Regions from separate parts of the Homo sapiens genome. Here region 1 is linked to region 2. The links are contacts of gene promoters, found by promoter capture Hi-C in blood cells and fetal thymus (Javierre and others, 2016). All regions are on one chromosome and are shown on one strand. The core of a region is centred on a gene start or on the middle of the fragment in contact, and the rest is flanking DNA. Distances in the headings are between cores, read along the strand shown. Region 1 has its middle 55 kb from the start of PGAP1. Region 2 holds the start of MOB4 (MOB family member 4, phocein).

The links. The method cuts DNA at HindIII sites, captures the fragments that hold promoters and counts their contacts. A CHiCAGO score of 5 or more calls a contact.
Region 1: a fragment that was not itself captured here is called in contact with the fragment with the promoter of MOB4 in region 2 in 1 of 17 cell types (monocytes); the score reaches 5.7 in monocytes.

Annotation. Positions count from the first base shown.
Region 1 is chr2:196,980,803-196,983,502 of GRCh38, forward strand. It overlaps a transcript of ANKRD44 not described here. Among named protein-coding and RNA genes, the nearest start is that of PGAP1, 55 kb to the left of the region's middle. The HindIII fragment of the contact is 2,815 bases long and covers 4-2,700 here.
Region 2 is chr2:197,514,635-197,517,334 of GRCh38, forward strand. MOB4 (MOB family member 4, phocein) reads left to right here and starts at 1,432. Exons shown (of 8, transcript NM_015387.5): 1 at 1,432-1,512. The coding sequence starts at 1,453. The region is part of intron 2 of HSPE1-MOB4 (HSPE1-MOB4 readthrough); the gene reads left to right. RefSeq lists a silencer at 1,271-1,490. The HindIII fragment of the contact is 18,120 bases long and covers 1-2,700 here.

The DNA of each region.
Region 1 (2,700 bases), core at 161-2,660, 530 kb before region 2:
AAAAGCTTCATCCTAATCCTGGAACCGAATTTCAGCCTGACAGTAAATCAGCTCTTAGTATCCATCTACTTAAAGTAAAATACCTGAATAATAGATGTTTTGAAGTAGTTAAATGTTCTCATTTATTTTGCTTCAATTCTATGATAAATAGCTTTTCCTATTTGTCATGTTGGCCTCCTCAGATTTTTACTTCTTCACATCCAATGCTTTTTTTTCTTCAGTCATTCTCAACCACCCACTCCCATGGTTATATCCTTTGCTTTGTCATCCTCAAAACTATACCACCTGTGAAATCTTTACTTTGGGCACTCCACATCAAGATCACCAACTCTGGGGCTACAATTCAATAATTCTGTCTTATCCTGACCCCCATTGACTACCACTTTTTCAGTATCCATCACCTCCCTCATGTTTTCACTTTCTTCCTTACCCAGTTTAGAATCCATGATCTACATAATCACATCCATTAAAAGCACCACAGTTCCATAACCCTCTCTCCCTTTGGACTTACCTAGCAAAGCTCTATACCAGGTTAAATTCCACTGTCTTCTTACTCTATGCCTACACCCAAACATCTGATGAAAAAATCCACCAGGATGACTGGTATCATTTTAGATTTATGATTATAAATCTTGAGTGTACTAAATCCTACTCAGTAACCCTCCTCTGTTACTCTAAAATGTTCTCTCCAGGCTGGGCGTGGTGGCCCACACCTATAATCCCAGCAGTGTGGGAGGCTGAGGCAGGTGGATCACCTGAGGTTGGGAGTTCGAGACCAGCCTGGCTAACATGGCAAAACCCCATCTCTACTAAAAATTTTTTTAAAAATCCGCCAAGTGTGGTGGTGTGTGCCTGTAGTCCCAGCTACTTGAGAGGCTGAGGCAGGAGAATCGCTTGACCCTGGAGGTGGAGGTTGCAGTGAGCTGAGATCGCACCATTGTACTCCAGCCTGGGCAACAAGAGTGAAACTCCATCTCAAAATAATAATAATAATAAAATAAATACATAAATGAACTCTATCTTGCCAAATCCATTGGTCAACTTCTCTGCATTTGACTTCCCAGAAGCAATTGAGACAATAGAAATCACTGACACTCCTTCTTCTATGACCCTTTATTTCCCAGGTTTCAGGGACATCTTGGTCTCTTGGTTTTCCTCCTGCCTCTGACCATTATGTCTTGTCTTCGCTGCTAGATCCTCCTCCTCCCCTTCCTAACCTCTAAATGCTGGAGTGTGCACAGTTCAGGGCTCTTCTATCATTTATTCCTGAGGGAATCTCTTCTCATTTGTCAATACTAAAAAAAATTATATATATATATATATATATGCAGAGACAAATCTCTAAGCAAGAGGATTTTATTTGAGAGTAATATACAGAAAGTAGGCTTGCAATAAGGACATGCACACAGAGACCAGGGCAGTTTCCAGTGTGTCCAAAGAACAAAGGAAAGGGCTGGAGTTTTATTGGGAAAGGAGAAAGAAGATGTAAGTTGTTTTCAAAGAAAGTTAATTGGCGATAGCAGAGTGGGCGCTGGTGAGCTCTGATTGGCAGGTGGCAGCAACTGCTAGGTAAAGTTCGCCTTGAAGTCATAGCAGGCTGTTTCCTTGGAGTAAACTTGCGAGACAGTTTTTGGAAGACGTTTGTGACCAGAGTGCTCTTTCCCAACAAAGGCTCCTTGACTCCATTTTCATTGGGTAGGACAGGAATGACTCCAAATCAACTTTCACATGTCTACAATTTCATATGATCCCAGCCCTGGCTTCTTCCCCAAACTCTACTGTTTACTTGACTCAAGCCATCAGCAAATTCAGTCAACTCTACCTTCAAGACATATCCAAAATGTGTCACAGTCTCTTCATTTCCCTTGTTGCCAGACAATCCAAGCCACTATATTTACTTGTCTAGGCTATTGCAGTGGCTACCTAATTGGTCACTAGGGTTTCTCTCTCTTGTCTCTCAACAGCAGCCAGAGTGATCTTTTAAAAATGAAATCACTGGATAAAGAAAATGTGGCACATATACACCATAGAATACTATGCAGCCATAAAAAAGAATGAGTTCATGTCATTTACAGGGACATGGATGAAGCTAGAAGCCATCATTCTCAGCAAACTAACACAGGAACAGAAAATCAAACACCACATGTTCTCACTCATAAGTGGGAGTTGAACAATGGGAACACATGGACACAGGGAGGGGTATATCACACACCAGGGCCTGTTGGTGGGTTGGGGTAAGGGGAGGGAGAGCATTAGGACAAATACCTAATGCATGCGGGGCCTAAAACCTAGATGACGGGTTGATAGGTGCAGCATACCACCATGGCACATGTATACCTATGTAACAATTCTGTATGTTCTGCACATGTACCCCAGAACTTAAAATAAAAATAAAAAATAAAAAATAAAAATGACAGAAAAAAAAAATCAGACCACAGCCATTTTTCTGCTTACATTTCTCCAGTGGCTTTTGTCACATTCAGAAAAATATAGAAACTCCTCCCAGCTCACAAAATTTTATGTCTGGGCTGAGATCGCTGTTAATCTTCTGCCACCCTCCCTTTCCCTTGAGTCTCCAGCCACACTGGCCCCATTTCTGTTCCTAGAACATAACAAACTCATTCCTGCCTTTGGGTATTGGCACTAGCCTTTTCCTCTCCCTAGAATGTTCTCTCCTCTGATCTTTGCATAGCTGGTAAT
Region 2 (2,700 bases), core at 182-2,681:
AATCTCATTATGTATATGCAAATATTCTAAAATCCAAAATAATCAGAAATCTGAAAGTGTTTTGGTCCCAAACTTTAAGATGAGGGGTACTTAACCTGTATAAGAATTTGTGATTTGCACGTCTCTGTTGCTGGAGTCAAGGCAATTTGTAGTGAAGGACTGAGCCTTATCATACTTGTACATTAGTGCCTACCATATAGTGGGGCTTAATGAGTATCTGTTGAACGAATAATCTTTTCATATGTAGACGCTGGTTCTGGGAGGGCAAAATTAAGTCCCTATTCTTGAAGAGTTACCAGTCAATACATCTTCCAGAGAGAACCAACTTCCTGTTGTTAAACCCTTCAATGCCTAGTTCTAAGTCACTGACAATTACTCAGCTAGAGACCCACTCAACCTCTCCTCTCCTCTCAAATTCCATTTCTGGAAGCTGTTACATGGCCCTTCCCTCAGCATTCTCAATACACCTTCTATCTAGGGACACTTGATGTTTTCTTCTTTTGGAAATCATGCTACTGTATGCGTTTTTTACTTTTTGAACTGTCTTCCCATCTGCTATCCCAAGGCCTCCCTCACCCCAGATAAAAGATTCAAGGTTTCTAAGCAGGAAAAAAAGTTTGCGAAAATGCTGTGGTTTCTTAAGAGAGAACACTTAAAATTTGCAACAAAGGAAATGTGGAATCCTGTAAGATGTAAAACCCTCACCACCTGTCAAGGACTACTAATTTCCTCCTCCTGCTTCTGACTTGAAAAACACGAGCTAAATCTGTCTGCCTAACGCACAAAACCAGATGTCCACTCTTCATCTCACATAATTGACATCTGCGTCTTTTATCTACGTAAACAAACTTGTCATTGAAAAAGTCCTTGGCTTTGAAGTCGCCGGATGGCGTAAATAACACTGACACTCAAATCCCCCGTCTGATTTCAGATTGGGTCGATTTCACGCAGGTTCTATAGAATTTGCCAAGACTGCTGGCCTGTTTTCTACCCTGATTCCTTAGGTGGCTTCTGGGACAGAATTACGGTTCTCTAAGTATTTGCTTGCAGGTGGGTTTACTGAAACGGTCGCCACTATACGAAGTTCGTTCTTCCCGTGTAACTAACGAGAGCCCATACCAACGTGCAACGCAGCCGTGCACACTGCCGCAGCGGTCGCTGCGATCACGACCTTTCAAACCGCCCCGCAGCCCTCGCAAAGAGGCTCGTGGCGCCCGCCTTCCGGTGCCTCAGTCCCTGCCAGTAGCCACCCGACGCCGTCCGGCTGTTCCTCGTTCGCCCTCTCCCTCCGCCTAGCCCGCTTCTACCCGGACGGCTCCCGGCGCAGGCTGCAGCTGTTCCGTCAGCTGCCGCTCCTCCTCCCAGACGCAGAGCGCCGCTCTGCCCCGCCCCCCGCGCAGGCTGCCGTCCCTACATCCGGGTACCGACTCCAGCCGCCTAGACGCTGGCACTATGGTCATGGCGGAGGGGACGGCAGTGCTGAGGCGGAACAGGCCGGGCACCAAGGCGCAGGTACCATGTCTGCACTTTTCTTGTCGGGCAACTAGGTGCCGAGCAGTGCTGCGCCCGGAAGCTGGCCGCCACTGCGGGGAGGTTGGGCCGAGGCGGCAGGCGGGCGGGCTGGGGCACTGGTGCCCGGCCTGCTCTTCCGGAGCTGCAGCCCCTCAATTTGGCTGAGGCGGTGGCGGCCGCCGTGAGGCCTGCGGAGCTCCGACCCAGGGGTAGGCGTGAGGGGCGGGTGGGGTCTGCTGGTGGTACCTGCCTGCCGAAGCCCTGGGCTGCGAGCCTGTCAGCAGCAACGGCTTCTTCTCGCCTTGCCCCTGAGCCCCAGCTGACTAGCATTGGAGGGGCGCGACCAGCCTGGTGGAGACCCCCGGGGTTTCCTGAAGGTCGGGGCCGCTGAGGTGGGAGGGGGTGTAAACACAGCCTACCTCGACCCGGCGTCCAGTTCCTACCTGGCCTGGGAAGTACCTACCCGTTTCCTGCCATCCAGCTTGTCTAGCCGGATCCGGGTGCCGATATTCTCCTCCTTGTTTCCCTTTGACCACCTCTCCCTGCCGCTTTCCCTGGAGCTGTTCTCTGGTCCAGCAAGTTTTCATCACTAAGTTGTGACTTGTTAGATGTCATTCCTTGCTAATATGCGTGAAGCATAGTCAGAGAATGAACTGATTATAATTTTGTCAGCTTTTTTGTAGGGCATTATGTGTGGTAAATTGGTGCTTGATTAGGCATTGTTTCTTAGGGTTTGGAAAAGATGGGATGCCTCACATTAAAAATAAATAAATAAAATTGGCATCCAGACTTGAACTGATTAATTGCTAGCCGAAATGGCTTGCTATAGACTAGATGCTCTGAAATCGGAAGAGATGTGTTTATAAAATGTTAAAAAGTGATGCAAATGAAAATTGAAACAAAACAATCGTGGAGCTATGATTGTATGTCTGAGAATAGATTTTAATTTCTTATACAGAATTATGGAAAGAACACCTTTCGAAGGGGGCATACAGGTATTGATTACCTCCCCAGATTCATGTTACAGATAAGGAAACTGAAGCCCAAGAGAATTAAGTGGATTTGCCCAAGGATACATAGTCTCCTGATTCTTAATTCACTGGTGACCTGTTCTCTTTAACAAGCTGCTTCTAGTGCTGAATTTCAGAGAAAATTTTAAAGTCTTATTTTGGAGTCACATTAAGCTGT